2 separate regions of the Homo sapiens genome follow, and region 2 is linked to region 1. Evidence: promoter capture Hi-C in human tissues and cell types (Jung and others, 2019). All regions are on one chromosome and are shown on one strand. The core of a region is centred on a gene start or on the middle of the fragment in contact, and the rest is flanking DNA. Distances in the headings are between cores, read along the strand shown. Region 1 holds the start of B3GNT9 (UDP-GlcNAc:betaGal beta-1,3-N-acetylglucosaminyltransferase 9). Region 2 overlaps CBFB (core-binding factor subunit beta).

Region 1 (7,837 bases), core at 2,470-4,969:
TGCTCTGCCATGGGCTGAGTGGCCCAGATATTCTTCTGTCCATCTTTGGCCTGCTGGTGCCAGCAGGGGACACAGACTGCAAAGAGAAGCACAAAGTTTGAGCCTTGATTCCTGGACCCAGGAGCTCTCAACTAACAAGGAGGCAGGAGAGGTCAACCCTTGTCCCATGCACATTGGGAAGACTTGGGGCTCTTTCTGTGACTGAGGACACAGGCACCCAGGATAAGGACAAGGTCCTGCCTTTGGCTCCACATTGCCACATGACCCTTAAGGCAAGCAGGTAGCGTGTCCATAGTACTTGGTTGCGACATTTGCACTACATCCACTTTAGTTACTTGATGAGCTGGCTGTGGCCAGGGTGGCCCACCTGCCCTTCCCTGTTCCTTTCTTGCACGCGCTCCCTGCCTGGGCACACCAAACTGGTTGAAACACAGCTTTCTACCATCCAGGTACATGCCCAGGCCTGGTTCTCACCCCTGTTGGAGTCAGCTTTCAAGATTGCCTGTGCCCCTGCTCTGCCCCATCCTGGCTGGCAGGGCTGCATGTTTCCATCCTGTTTGCCTCTTTTATTTAATGCCAAAGTTTTAGCCAAAGACATCTTCCTACTTTTGTTGTGTTTCAGCATTCTGTTCTGCACTGTGGGCTGGCTCTCTGCCCCAACCCTGGGCACTGGCCCCTGGCTGGGCCATTTCATGGCTCAAAGCCTCTGGGGGCTCAAGGAAGGCTGGGCTGCTCAGTCCCTTCATGGGTCTTGCTAATGGAAAGTAGCATATATGTGCTTTAAAAATATTAATCCTTTTGAAAAGAACTGAGAAGAAAAATGTATAATTTTATCCCATTTTTAATATTTTGGTCTAGCAACTTGTGATACATAGATGACAATTTTGTGAGTTTTTCAAATGTGTGTACAGATTTTTGTAAATATGACTCTTTTGTAATTAACTCATGTACAGCCTCATCCTGTATAGTTTAATGATGAATGTGCAGGGGACCTGTCTCAGGCTCCTATATGGTTCCTGGGCCTTATAGCCAGGTTTGTGTGGCGCTCCCGACTTTTGTGACTGACTGGTGTCTTCCCATTTGGACTGTGGCCTGGCCAGAGCCCCTTGCATATCCCCACTGTCAGGGGCAGCCAGGACTGTTCCCATCCTCCTGGAATGGGGGAACCTTCCTTATCCCCTGCCCACATCCCCTCTCCAATAAAGCACCTGTGCCCTCAGCAATGGCCTGCCATGTGCTGTTGCTGGGATGTTTGTATTAAGGTAAGTGTGGGTATTGGTTTTTTGAGCAAGGGGGTGGTTGAAGCATATGGGGAAATTAATAGTGGTGGCATCTCAGGGGAAGACATTCCTTGGCTCCTCTGAGGGGATACAGCCTCCAGTGGGAGACTGGCATTGTTGTGTGAGTTCAGGAGGTGAGGAAAGACTAGGTAGGACCGTGCACTCATTTGTCCCTTATGTGTGGCTCCATCCCTGGTGCTCAGCCACACCTGGGCCCAGGAGAGGTTGTGGGAAGCATAATATCTGTTTTCAGATGAGCTATGGCAAAGTGCCTGCCAGGTTCATGAATTCAGGCTGTGGCGGCCGGAGCCCCTCCACCTCCCTGTGGGGCCTGGCCTTGAGAGCCTCTGCATACGTCCGCGTCAGCCTAGGGGGTTCCAAATCCAGCAGAGTGGTAGGATTCCCTAAGTCCCTGCCACCACACCAGAACACACCTCTGTGCTACTAGGAGGACCAGACATATCCACTGCTCTGGGACCTGTTGGACAAGAGATGGTCATCTACCACCCAGCCTTGGCTCGCTCAAAGGGTCACCATTACACGGGTTTCAACTGGTTCCAGCAGGGTGGACCGCCAGGAGCCAAGCTTAACCCCCATCCCCTGGGATCCTGTGGAGACAGGCACCTGGTGATCAGGGAAGAACCACATACACGGCAATAATCTGGGAAACCGGCTCCATTCTGGGTCTGAGTTAGGAGCTTGGGGCTGTAGTGGGGAGCTAGGAGTCCCATTGGAAGGGGCCTGCAGCGACAGGCTGTGGATGCGCACAGGCTGGCCCATGCGGCCCGTGCAGCAGGCGCCACATAAGCCAGATGTCAGCGGCCGAGAGCCCGTGCACTACAACCAGCTCACGGTAAAAGCAGGGGTCGAAGGTGCTCAAATGCGGCGCGGCTGAAGGCTGGGGGATGCCAAAGGTGCGGAAGGCAGGGTGAGGCTCGGGCGTGAGCCGCAGGCGCTGCAGACACATGCCCAGAAAGACGTCGTCGATGGGGAAGAGCTCGACCTGCGCACAGGCGCCAGCCAGGCGGTGCAGCGTGGCCCCGGAAAGCACAAAGCCACCGCCGCCCGCGTAGGCCGGATAGGCGGGCAGGCCGTACACGGCCTCGGGGATGTAGTACTTGCTAGCCCGCGTGCGGATGGGCCGCGCATGCACAATTACGTCACCAGCAAGCAGGTCTTGCGCCGGGTCCCGCGGCGCCAGGAACTCCAGGAGATTTCCCACGTTCACGAACACATCTGCGTCGCCCTTAAAAACGAAGCGCACGTCGGGGCAGAAAGCTGAGGCCCAGGCTAGAAAGTGGATCTCCTTGAGCGTTAGGTTAAAAAAGGTGTCGTCGAAGGCCCAGAGCAGGATGTCCGCATACGCAAGGCTCTCGGCCCGCAGCAGGGCGCGCCAGTGGGTTCGCGCGCCCTCCCCAACTTCGTCGGCCCCGCCCGAGCCTGCGCCCCTGGGCACGCCCAGCAAGAACACGCGGCGCACCAGCGCCCCCTGCACGCGACCCTCCGCGCCCCACGTCTGGCGCACGGCTTGGCGCCGCTCGAAGTCCTCTGCCACCGACTTGACAGCAATAAGCAGGTCCGGGCGGCCACCGGGTGCGCCGTCGCCGCGGCACTTGTGCGGCTGGTTAATGAGCAGTGGAAACCGCCGCTGGTCCTTGGCGCGCAAATAGCGGGCGAAGTCAAAGGGTCCCGTAGGCGTGGGCGGCGCCGGTGTGTCCCCTTCGTAGGCCGGCGGGGCTGCACCCGCGTCGGGTAACTGGAACGCGCGGGGTCCGGGGGTGGGCCTCGGTGCCGCCCTCCCTCGCCCTCGCGGCGCGCTCGCCGTCGGGGCCGCGCCGTCGCGCTGCGCATAGAGTAAGAGGCCCAGGGAGGCGCCAAGGAGCAGCGTGAGCAATGCGTCCCTGCGTAGGCGCAGCCTCCTCCTCATCTCCGCGCGGCCTGCGCCCTCCCTCCCCTGTAAGGGTCGCAGTCGGCAGCAGGGGGCAGCGAGCCCCGCCCTCCCCAGCTGAGGGGGCGGGAGGCCACGCCCCGGGGGGGGCTCCAGCGACCGACGGTTGAGCCCCTTGCGTTGTTCTCCTCCTCCCGGCCGTGTCGCACCGCCGGGACCGGCAGCCTGAAGGGACAAGAAGTTCACCCATGTAGCCAACTCCCCCGCGGCCTCAGCTCCGGCCCAGGACTGCGACCCAGGGCCGGGCAGGGAGACTGGGAGCCTCGGCCCCTCCCCCGCCCGCCTCCCTCGCGCTGAGGCCGAATCCCTTCCACCCTGCCATCCCCTCAATGTCGGGCCCTGGGGTCCCGACACTCACGCTCGGCCCTCGGAAGTGGCGCAGCCCCGGACGCCCTGGCCTCCGGGGCTCAGCGCAGGGTCCGAGGGGCCGCCATGGACCGGGCCCGAGCCAAATGCAGCGTTGGCAGGAAGGGGGACCGGTGCCGTGCCACGTGACCCTCCAGCTGTGCGCGCCCAGACTTCTGGAGCTCAGCTCCGCCCCGGCGCCAGGAGCACTCCGGCCTCAGAGTGGGGACTAATCCCTGAGAGGGAGCCTCCTCACTCTCAGTCCCTCTGGGAAGGGCTGGTCTGGGTGCTCACACCCCAAATTCGCCTTTCTGGGGATTGGGAAGAAGCATCAACTCCCCTGGTTAGCTCCCCCAACTATCCACTCCCCACTCCCGCGTCTCTGGAGTGGGGCGGAGCCTGGGCTGCTAGGAGCCCCTGAGCAGGCCGGTTCCAAATGCGCATGAACCTGGCCACCATCCCGGGCGGGCCTCTCCTCAGCAGCCCTGATTCCATCAGGCAGGGTGCATACGCTGCCCCCGAGACACATGGCTGTCTTCTTACTCCTGGTTCTGCCATGCTCCCCACCCCCAGTAAACACACGCACGGGACAAACAAGGCAGCCCACCCAATCCTCAGGGCAACTCTGCCAGCAGCTCTCATTCATGCCCAGATGGGGACACTGGGGGGCTCTTCGGGGAGTTAAGTGACTTGCCCAGGATCCAAAGGCCAGAAAGCTCTGCCCCCAGGTCTTCTGAAATTCAGGCCAGGATTATTTTATCTGTCCTTGCCCCGCTCATTCATCCACTGGGATACAGAACAGGGGGCCAACCCAGTCTGCTTTAATTTCACAGGCAAGCACTTCAGCCTGTCTCCCCGGGGGCTAATGGACCTGAGCCCAAGCCAGGTGCAGTTCTGAGTCCCCTGGTCCCCAGCATAGCCTACTGCAGGTAGAAATGATCAGGCCTGTGCAGCTGCAGGTCAGACAGGGCTGGCAAGGATGGGGACAGCTTGGGAAGACTCCTGGCGGAGGCCTTGGCTAAAGGATTGCTCTGGGATGCAGGTGGACAGAGGTGCTCTGCAATGGAGAGCTAAGTCCTTGCGCAGCTCAGCTGCCAGCTCTCTCTTTCTTGGTCCCAGCCCATGTGGTGGAGCCTGGAATAGACAGCCTCTACTGGTCTCTTAAGAACCCAGCCCCATCCTCTGTCCAAGGGCTATATCTGCTCCTGACGGCTTCTTCCCACCAATGTTCAATCTTAAAAAGCCACCTCTCTGGCTGGGTGTGGTGGCTTATGCCTGTAACCTCAACACTTTGGGAGGCTGAGGTGAGTGGATCACTTGAGGTCAGGAAGTCAAGACCAGCCTGGCCAACGTGGTGAAACCCCCATCTCTACTAAAAATACAAAAATTAGCTAGACATGGTGGTGGGCACCTGTAATCCCAGCTACTTAGAGGGCTGAGGCAGGAGAATTGCTTGAACCTGGAAGGTGGAGGTTGCAGTGAGCCAAGAACACACCACTGCACTCCATCCTGGGCAACAGAGCGAGACTGTCTCAAAAAAAAAAAAAGGCCAGTCGTGGTGGCTTACTCCTGTAATCCCAACACTTTGGGAGGCCAAGGCAGGTGGATCACTTGAGGCCAGGAGTTTGAGACCAGCCTGGCCAACATGGAGAAACCCTGTCTCTATTAAAAATACAAAAATTAGCCAGGTATGGTGGCACGTGCCTGTAATCCCAGGTACTTGGGAGGCTGAGGCAGGAAAATCACTTGAACCCGGGAGACGAAGGCTGCAATGAGCCGAGATCGTGCCACTGCACTCCAACCTGGCAACAGAGTGAGACTCTCTCCAAAAAAAAAAAAAAAAAAAAAAGCCAAATCTCCACCCTGAGCCTTACTCTTTTTGGTCACAAAGTAATCAGGAGTCCTCTGCTCCAGCTTTCTCCGCGGCCTCACCTTCCATTCCCTCCTGTGATAAAGCTTCGGGCTGCCTCCACCATGACTCAGAAAGACCCCTGACTGGTAAGCTCCTTTTAACTGAGTCCAACAGACACTCCTCGGTCTTGACTACCCGCTCCATTATAGTGGGTGGGTAATCCCCTGGTTTCCAAATCTCCTGGTTTTCCTCCTTCCTCTTTGGCTGTTCCCATTCTGGTTGGTGTCCTTCAGGACATCCCCTGGGGCCACCCCACCCACTCCCCACCTGTCTATTCATCAATCTTTAGATTGAACCCTCATCCTGAACTCAGAACTACAGACCCAACTACCCTCATACTCTCTCCCCGGATGCACTGCAGGAACATCATGCTCAACTTGTCCCAAACAGAGCAAGCATTTCATTTCCCCCCAGGGCCCCATCCCAGCAAGCAGTCCCACCCACCATCCAACTGGCAAAGGCAGAAACTTGGGGCCCTCTCTCAGCCATTCCTCACCCAGTGTCACCAGGCCTGTTACTCTTCCACCCACACAGCTCTTTGGTGGTCATCCCCTTCCCTCCATCTCTGCTGCTACTGCCCCAGCCTGGGGCCACCATTTCCCCCACCCCCATCCTCATCAACCTCCCAGTCTTGGCCAGGTGCGGTGGCACATGCCTGTAATCCCAGCACTTTGGGAGACCAAGGTGGGTGGATCACCTGAGGTCAGGAGTTTGAGACCAGCCTGACCAACATGGAGAAACCCCATCTCTACTAAAAATACAAAATTAGCTGGGCATGGTGGTGGGCGCCTGTAATCCCAGCTACTTGGGAGGCTGAAACAGGAGAATTGCTTGAACCCAGGAGGTGGAGGTTGCAGTGAGCCAAAAACGTGCCATTACACTACAGCCTGGGAAATAAGAGTGAAGCTCCATCTGAAAAAAAATTAAAATTAAAAAAAAAAAAAAAACAACCACCTCCCAGTCTTAACTCCCGAAACTCTTCAAAGGCTTCCTACTGGCCTCATTGAAAAACCCACAAGCCTTCCTCAAGCCCTTGCCTGAGACTGTGCCCCGAACACTGCCCTTCTCTCGATAGCCCACCCCTATGCCTACTCACACTCATCTCCTCCAGGAAGCCTACCCCCTGTCCCCTGCCCAGGTTAGGCCCCTTCCTCCATCCTCCACAACTTCTCTTTTTTTTTCTTTCTTTTTTTTTTTTTTTTTTTGAGACAGGGTCTCACTCTGTCACCCAGGCTGGAGTGCAGTAGCTCAGTGACATCTCACTGCAGCCTCAACCTTCCATGCTCCAGGGATCCTCCCACCTCAGCCTCCTAAGTGGCTGGGACTACCCAGGCTGGTCTCAAACTCCTGAGCTCAAGCAATCCTCCTATCTCTGTCTCCCAAATTGTTGGGATTACAGGTGTAAGCCACTACTACTTGTATTTCTCACATCAAAATCCGTGTTATACTTTATTATCATTGCTTAACATTCGGGGTCCCACGCTGAGTGTGAGCTGGGGGCAGGCAAGATTGATTCCTGTTTTACTTCACTGCAGTATCTGCAGCACCCAGGATGAAGTCCAGGACACCAAAGATCAAGGTGCTTCATGAGTGAAACTGTAAGGGCTGGCTGTAAGCCCCGCTTCTGGGATGGGAGAAGGTGAGGCTGATCTCCAAAGCAGGTCCCCCCCACCCCACACTCTATCAAAGTACCTGAGGCAGAATCCCCAATGATGCACCCCCAGTGGTCTGGCTCCTGGGGAAGGCAATCAACTCTGCCCCAGCAGGTCCAGCAGATAGGCCAAGTGGAGTTTCAGGGTCCCGTGGATGGACAGGGGTTCAGCAATAGCCGCAGAAGGAACCCTAAGGCCATCCAGGTTCTCCAAAAGCTGGCTGCACCCCTGGTCTAGGCCAGGCCGCCATTGGGATCGGTCAGGCCCAGCAAGTCCTCTGCCAGGCTGGTGAGCTCGTTCTCCTCGAGTGCCTCCACCAGGCGCTGCAGCGTGGCGCGGCGGCCCTCGGCCTGCACGAAGCGCCGCAGCAGCTGGAAGGCCTGCTCGTACAGTCCCTCGCGCTCGTACTCGTAGGCCAGCGAGTCCAGCGCCGGGTCCCGCAGCGCCCGGCAGCCTCGCTGCAGTGAGCGCCCCACCTTGCGCCATTTGAGACCCACAGAGCGCGCGAACGTCTGTTGGTCCTTCAGGCTCAGCGGCCGATTCACTGCAGAGGGAGTGGGGAAACGGGGTGAGGGCGGGGACCCCCAGCGCCGGTCCCACCCATCCCCACCCGGCAACGACCCCTGCCCCTCCCCAGACTCCAACCTCCTGGTGACCCCGCCTCTCCACCTGCGCCTCACCTACAGGCTGACCCTGGAAC
Region 2 (7,837 bases), core at 865-3,364, 120 kb before region 1:
TTGAACTCCTGACCTTAAGTAATCCTCCCACCTCGGCCTTCCAAAGTGCTGGGATTACAGGTGTGAGCCACCGCGTCTGGTCTTGTTTCGTTTTTTTTTTTTAAGAGAGAGGTCTTGCTGTGTGGCCTAGGCTGGGGTGCAGTGGCTGTTCACAGGCACAATCATGAGGCACTACAGCCTCAAACTTCTGGGCTCAAGCGATCCTCTTGCCTCAGCCTCCCAATAGCTGGGACTACAGGCTCGGCGTCACCATACGCAGCCCCATGTGTTGTATTATCATCACTATCTTTGAAAGCTGAATTTTTTTGGAAATTTGGTGAATCATAGCTAGTAGGGTGTTTTCTGTCATCTCAGACTTTGCTGAATGGAATTATGAATTCAACCCATAGGATATCTGAAATGCTGTAATATTATAGTAGTAGTACAGGTGGTTAGTGTTTGTCATGAATTTATTTCCAGGATGAATTAGACATTCTAGACCTTCCCCGCTTCCAAATAATCTGATCCTCACCTGAGCCCGGGAGGTCGAGGCTGCAGTTAGCCATGATCGTACCACTGCACTCCAGCCTGGGTGACAGAGTGAGACCCGGTCTCCAAAAATAAAACAAGTATCTGATTCGACACATTTTACAAGTTTTAAATTTCTGAGAAGTATTAAAGGTTAAAGAAGGTAGATTGAATGCTGTGTGAGGTTTGCACTTAAGACGGCTCATGTCTTATTTTGTTAAATAATGTAACTATTGGTATTTGGAGAGGAATTTCACGTTTCCTAGTTTTCTCTCTTTCTAGTTTCCCTCCTTTAATTCAGTGTTAACCCACATTTAATTACAGGATCCTTAGCTCCTAGAGGGTAGAGACCTCATTAATTTTGTATAAACCCCTCTGGATACAGCTATTTTTCACAATACCTTTTATATCAGAGGTACTTGATTATTTGAATTTAGAGGCTGCTTAATTTAATGCCTGAAATTTATCTCATGACTTATGAACAGGCTGGGTTTCTTCCTATTTGGCTGTGGAAAAAGGCATTATTTTGCCTGTTTTGACAGCAGCCATAAATGGCAAGGATATCCATAGTTCTCAAAACTATTCCCAACCTTTCTCCTGCCCCAGTTGTCCTCTTCTTATTTGGAACATCTTCTTGATGTATCAGTGAGGTTAATGAAGAATTCATTTTGCTGTTGCCCAGGCTGGAGTGCAGTGGCATGATCTTGGCTCAGTGCAACCTCCGTCCCCCATGTTCAAGTGATTGTCTTGACCCAGCCTCCTGAGTAGCTGGAATTACAGGCGTATACCACCATGCCCAGCTAATTTTTGTATTTTTAGTAGAGACGGAGTTTCACCATGTTTGCCAGGCTGGTCTCAAACTCCTGACCTCAGGTGATCCACCGACCTCGGCCTCCCAAAGTGCTGGGATTACAGGCGTGAGCCACCACTCCCAGCCTCATTTTGCATTTAGATGTGAAATAATTTAAGGGCTGTGTTGATCATCTCTCTTTAACTATAAAACTCAATCAGCCTCCTTATTTTATGCCAATTGAGTTTTTAACTGTAAAACCCAATCAGCATTAAATAAAAGTGAACACAGGTCGAAGAATCTGTAGTAGAATCTGATTTATTCTTTTTTGAGACTGGATCTTACTCTGTCACTCTGGCTGGAGTGCAGTGGTGCCATCTCCGTTCACTGCAACCTCCACCTCCTGCTTCAGCCTCCTGACTTGCTGGGATTACAGGCGCCTGCCACCACGCCTGGCTGGTTTTTGTATTTTTAGTAGAGATGGGTTTCACCATGTTGGCCAGGCTGGTCTCCAACTGCTGGCCTCAAGTGATGTGCCTGCCTCAGTGAGCCACTGCACCCAGCCTTGATTTATTCTTATCAATTCTTTTTTTTTTTTTTTTGAGACGGAGTCTTGCTCTGTCGCCCAGGCTGGAGTGCAGTGGCACGATCTCGGCTCACTGCAAGCTCCGCCTCCTGGGTTCACGCCATTCTCCCGCTTCAGCCTCCCGAGTAACTGGGACTACAGTCGCCTGCCACCACACCCGGCTAATTTGTTTTTGTATTTTTAGTAGAGACAGAGTTTCACCGTTGTTTTTTTTTTTTTTTTTTTTGAGACGGCGTCTTGCACTGTCGGCTAGGCTGGAGTGCAATGGCACGATCTTGGCTCTCGGCTCACTGCAACCTCTGCCTCCTGGGTTCACACGATTCTCCTGCCTCAGCCTCCCGAGTAGCTAGGATTACAGGCGCACACCACCACACCCGGCTAATTTTTTGTATTTTTAGTAGAGGTGGGGTTTCACTATATTGGCCAGACTGGTGTTAAACTTCTGACTTCGTGATCTGCCTGTGTTGGCCTCCCAAAGTGCTGGGATTACAGGCTTGAGCCACTGCACCCGGCCTATTCTTACCAATTCTTATGTAGTTAAGAATGTTGGAGACGTCTTCAACACTAATAATCAAATAAAGAAAAAATATTTATAAGAAGTATGGTTACTCTGTGGTGAGAAGAGTAAAAACTAATACATATTTCTAATTCTAAAGATTGAATGGTAAAAAGTATGTTGGATTGGCACAAGGTGTGCTATTTTATAATTTGTGAAACCTACAAAGCATAAGACAACCTGGAAATCTTAAATATAGGCGTCATACTAGTGTAGCATTTTAATGTTTTCATTTTGTTTATTTTCGTCTTTATTTTCCTATGACGATGTTGACACCATATTAATATTTTGGAACAGACTTTTTCCAACTCTTACCTATATGTAGGTATTTCATTAAAAGAATTCCATGGTCACATAAGTTTGGAAAATGTTATTCTAGAATGATCTGTGTTTACCACTTCTGTCTCAGAGAGGGATCTTTATGAGATAATGGACATATAGTGATGAAGCAGGAAATCTCTTCTGAGGTTGGCATCAAGACAGGAGATGAGGTAATACGATCTGCAGAGTGTCTTAGCACAGAACTGATTTGGGGTACACTGGAGGTGGAAGGATTTGCTACTACGTGAATACTGAAGAAACAAGCCACAGGGATTTTGACACGGGGCAGTCGTTCATGGGCTGTGTCTTTTCTGCCACCACTCTGCTCTGAGAATTTCATTATCTGAAGCTGAAAAAGTTGGCTTTCTTGTTGAGCTTAAAGTTATTTATCATATTATTCAGCAGACACTTTCATAGCATTTACTTGGTACTGTTTTAAGCACTTTACAAATAATTGATTTGTGAGAAAACTGAATTATGCTTCAGGTCGTACAGCCTGGGCAGTTTCCCTCCCAGAAACTTTTTTTTTTTTTAACTAGTGTTGGGGGGTTTTTTGTTAAGATTTATGCTCGTAGTACATGGGAAGTTTTTTTTGTTTTTTGTTTTTGTGATGGAGTCTCGCCTTGTTGTCCAGGCTGGAGCACAGTGGTGCAATCTCGGCTGACTGCATGCAACCTCTGCCTCCCAGGTTCAAGTGATTCTCCTGCCTCATCCTCCCAAGTAGCTGGGATTACAGGCGTCTGCCACCATGCCCAGCTAATTTTTTGTATTTTTAGTAGAGACAGGGTTTCACCATGTTGGCCAGGCTGGTCTTGTACTCCTGACCTCAGATGGTCTACCTGCCTTGCCTCCCAAAGGGCTGGGATTACGAGTGTGAACCACTGCTCCTGGCCTGAAAGATTTTTTAAAATGATGTTGTAATATTGATGTTAGTTCAGTTTCTATGGATATAAAACATTTACCACATGAAAATGGTACCCCAGTTGATTAGGGAAATGCCATCAGAGAGGTTTAGAGATTTAGCATTTAGGTTGACAAGTGTACCGACAGTGCCAGTAATAGAAATAGGAAGTATAATTTTTACCTCTAAAGAATCTAAGCTGTTAACCATCAGGGGAACTATTGGATAGCTAACTTGGTTGATGGCTTTAAACAAATTGCCCCAAATGTGAACCTCTTGATTTGAGATGAAGACTCTATGCATGGAAACCAATTATGCTTCAGAACTTAATTAGTAGAATAAACCAAACAAAAAACTTTTTCTGGTTTCAGCAAAGAAGAGTTTACATTTAGATGATGAAAAATGTATTTTTTCAAAAATGCTTTTACTTCTTTTTTTCTTAATTTCCTTTGGGAAAGGGGTAATGTCTTTGTTTTTTGCCTGAGGGAAATATAGAGGTAACTTGCTCAAGGCCTACATAAAATGACACTTTATTGAAGTGGTTTTAGATTGTTGCATCTGTTGAGCTCTAACATCCAAATCTTTTATATTTATAAATCTAATCTATAAATATTTATTAGATGAATACTTTTCTCTTTGTTGTAGTCAGACCAAGTTCTCCTAAAGTCAAATGTGAGAAAAGACATATTTTTAAAAATCATCTAGGGTTTTAGAGAGTACTGTCACATCCCATGCCAATGTATGGTTTATCAGAGGAGAGACAATTCCAAGTGCATTTTTTATGTACTGCCTGCTATGCAGTGTTTCAGCAAGGGAAATCAAGGAAAATTAAAGTGTCTCATTTATACAATTTTAAATTGTGGTATTCTTTAAAATTCAAAATCTTTAGATTTTGAGTGATTTTTACATTTAAAAATAGAAGTTTTTAAATGCAGAGATGGATAGTGGCTTCTGGTTAGACATTAGCAGTGTGAGATCCTAACGTCAGCAAAAAATGACCTGAAAGAAAGTATTGATTCCATGTCTGATTTTATACTTAAGCAGCCAATGGCAAATGTCCTCAAAATGGAATCAGATGTTTGTAACTTAATACTTAAGAAAAATGATGAGTGCATGTTTTTTTTTACTTTTAAGTATTCTCTGTGCTGCCTGGCTTAAGACATAAACTGATGTAAAAATAAATGACTGCTTGCATAATTTATGTAATGTCCTGCTCCTGATCCTGTTTGTATTGATTTTTCTAAAAGGCTTTTGTGGCCACAGGAACCAATCTGTCTCTCCAGTTTTTTCCGGCCAGCTGGCAGGGAGAACAGCGACAAACACCTAGCCGAGAGTATGTCGACTTAGAAAGAGAAGCAGGCAAGGTAGGAAACATTTCTTTGCAATTTAAAATACTGTGGGTTGTTTTGTTAGAGATTATCTGGTAATTTACATTTTAATAAAGATCACAGATCTGATTATACCAGCATATGCTCAGATTTGTTTTCATTCCATGTTATAAGGATGTAATATAATTTTTTTTTTTTAATGGCGTTTCGCTCTTGTTGCCCAGGCTGGAGTGCAGTGGCGTGATGTTGGTTCACTGCAATCTCCGCCTTCCAGTTTCAAGCGATTCTCCTGCCTCAGCCTCCTGAGTAGCTGGGATTACAGGTACCCGCCACCACATCTGACTAATTTTTGTATTTTTAGTGGAGATGGGGTTTCACCATGTTGGCCAGGCTGGTCTCGAACTCCTGACCTTGTGATCCGCCCACCTCTGCCTCCCAAAGTGTTGGGATTACAGGCGTGAGCCACTGTGCCCGGCCAATATAATTTTTTAAAACCACTGTTAAACTTTTGTATCACTCCATTCCTAATTTCATGTACATAATATTTGTCATAGAACATTCTAACCCTTAAGGAAAGTAACATAACAATTTCTTTAAAAGTTTGAGGAGATATATTTTGTTTACAAAAATATATGTAAGTATAGTGCTATAAAAATAAAACAAGAGGAAAACGGAAAAAAGCTCTCTAGGTTTAAAAATTAATAGTATTTAGAAATAGCTCATAGGTAACTTTCTAATTCCATTAACAGCAAATTTACATTTGAGAAAAACAATGTGAAAACTTTAACTTGGAAATACTTTTTTTTTGTTTTGAGAAAAAGTTTCTGGGAACATGTCTTACAGTTTCGATGTTAGAAGTTTAGGTTAAAGATACAAAAATATAGGTAAAATGTTTAAGCTGAGAGCCTTATTTCAGGTCTACGTTAAATGTATTATGATTTTGGTAATTTTTTTTTTTTTTTTTTTGAGATGGAGTCTCCCTCTGTTGCCCAGGCTGGAGTGCAGTGGTGTGATCTTGGCTCACAGCAACCTCCACCTCCTGGGTTTTAAGCTATTCTCCTGCCTCAGCCTCCTGAGTAGCTGGGATTACAGGTGTGCGCCACCACGCCTGGCTAATTTTTTTGTATTTTTAGTAGAGACAGGGTTTCCCCATATTGGTCAGGCTGGTCTTGAACTCCTGACCATGTGATCCACCTGCCTCTGCCTCCCAAAGTGGTGGGATTATAGGAGTGAGCTACTGCACCTGGCCTGGTAAATTTTAATGAATAGCATCTTGGATTGGTTGATTCTTGATTGAGAAGTCAAGGAGTTGACTTCTAGAATAAAATTTTTAAAGAAGAAACCCTCTTTTAAATATAGTTTTATACTCAAAACACCCTTTTGGATCCAGTTTCATACTTTTTTTGTGTGTGTTTGTTTTGCAGTGTGTTTTTGTACCCGTTTCTATCAACTTACTAAATTAATTTTCTAAGTGTCATCATGAATAGCATAACCTGCCACATTTATGTAAAATGTGAGAAATGTCTAAATATTCCTTTGAGAAATATTTAATTTAATCTTGTGTGTATATATATATATACACGTATATATGTGTATATATACGTATATGTGTGTGTATATATGTATATATGTGTGTGTATATACGTATATGTGTGTATGTATATACATATATATGTATATATAAAATGAATTTTTTGTTTTCTCCAATTCTGTAGAATTAGATTTGATCTTTTGTGCGTGACAAAACAATCTTTGGATTAGAAAAGGGAAAACAGATTATAAGATTTAAAAAAATGAGTACTAAGCAAGCAGTTTGCTTTCCTGTGTATTAGCTTGTTTGCTTGGAAAATTAAAAGTGAATGTTCCAGATTTTACTATTTGGTAATTCTTACACAATATATAAGGAAGAATTTGAGAAGTCCTTGTACGATTATTGGTTTTTTTGTGCTTCTGGTGCGTGTATGTGTGACTAAATGAAGAAATTATTTTTTTTCTTGTTTGAATACTTCCTTAAAGTTTGTTTAACATGGTAGCTCAGATACTAAAGACGTAAACCAAAAAAAAAAAAAATTTGTTTTTTGTCAGCTTTAGCCCAAAACTATTTTAAGACTTCAAGGGCAACATCTCAGTGTTACTGAAGTCTTCCGGTATTTAATAACTAGTAAATGGGTTGTTAACTCTACCAGAAATTAAGTTTGCTTGAATTAATTTAATGATACTGCTTCACTAGTGTGAAGACCACATAATCCTTGGACTTAAACCATTGAGATGTTTTTAGTTATATGACCAAAAATAACAAAAATGTGAGATGGTTTATTCTAGTACAGTCATGTGTCACTTAATGGTAGGGATATGTTCTGGGAAATGTGTTGCTGGGTGATTTTTATCATTGTGTATATATAGAGTGTACTTACACAGATCTAGATGGTATAGCCTACTACACACTTAGGCTATCTGGTATAGTCTGTTGCTCCTAGGCTACAAACCTGTACTGTACAGCATGTTACCGTACTGAATACTGTAGTCAACTGTAACACAATTTGGTAAGTATTTGTGTATCTTGATGTATCTAAACATAGAAAAGATATGGTAAAAATACAGTATTTAAAAAATGGTATACCTGTATAGGGCACTTACTTTGAATGGAGCTTGCAGGACTGGAAGTTGCTCTGGGTCAGTCAGTTGAGTAAGTGGTGAATGAATGTGATTCTGTAGATTATATAAACATAGTATGCTTAGGCCGCACTAAATCTATAAAAATTAAGCAATTGCACTGCAATGTTAAAATGGCTATGATGTCACTAGGCAATAGGAATTTTTCAGATTCATTATAATCTTACAAGACCAC

The links. Contacts are between HindIII fragments. The study calls those that stand out against the background at their distance.
Region 2: a fragment that was not itself captured here is called in contact with the fragment with the promoter of B3GNT9 in region 1 in 4 of the 25 tissues and cell types used here (aorta, hippocampus, mesenchymal stem cells and 1 more).

What each region holds. Positions count from the first base shown.
Region 1 is chr16:67,147,279-67,155,115 of GRCh38, forward strand. It overlaps B3GNT9 (UDP-GlcNAc:betaGal beta-1,3-N-acetylglucosaminyltransferase 9), which reads right to left and starts at 3,720. Exons shown (of 2, transcript NM_033309.3): 1 at 3,587-3,720; 2 at 826-3,393. The coding sequence starts at 3,207. The coding sequence ends at 1,999. It overlaps PHAF1 (phagophore assembly factor 1), which reads left to right. Exons shown (of 16, transcript NM_025187.5): 16 at 1-1,266. TRADD (TNFRSF1A associated via death domain) reads right to left here. Exons shown (of 5, transcript NM_003789.4): 4 at 7,818-7,837; 5 at 6,907-7,681. The coding sequence ends at 7,371. RefSeq lists silencers at 3,076-3,505, 3,516-3,675. The HindIII fragment of the contact is 9,280 bases long and covers 3,698-7,837 here.
Region 2 is chr16:67,031,731-67,039,567 of GRCh38, forward strand. CBFB (core-binding factor subunit beta) reads left to right here. Exons shown (of 6, transcript NM_022845.3): 3 at 4,909-5,025. Among named protein-coding and RNA genes, the nearest start is that of CBFB, 6.5 kb to the left of the region's middle. The HindIII fragment of the contact is 6,179 bases long and covers 1-5,204 here.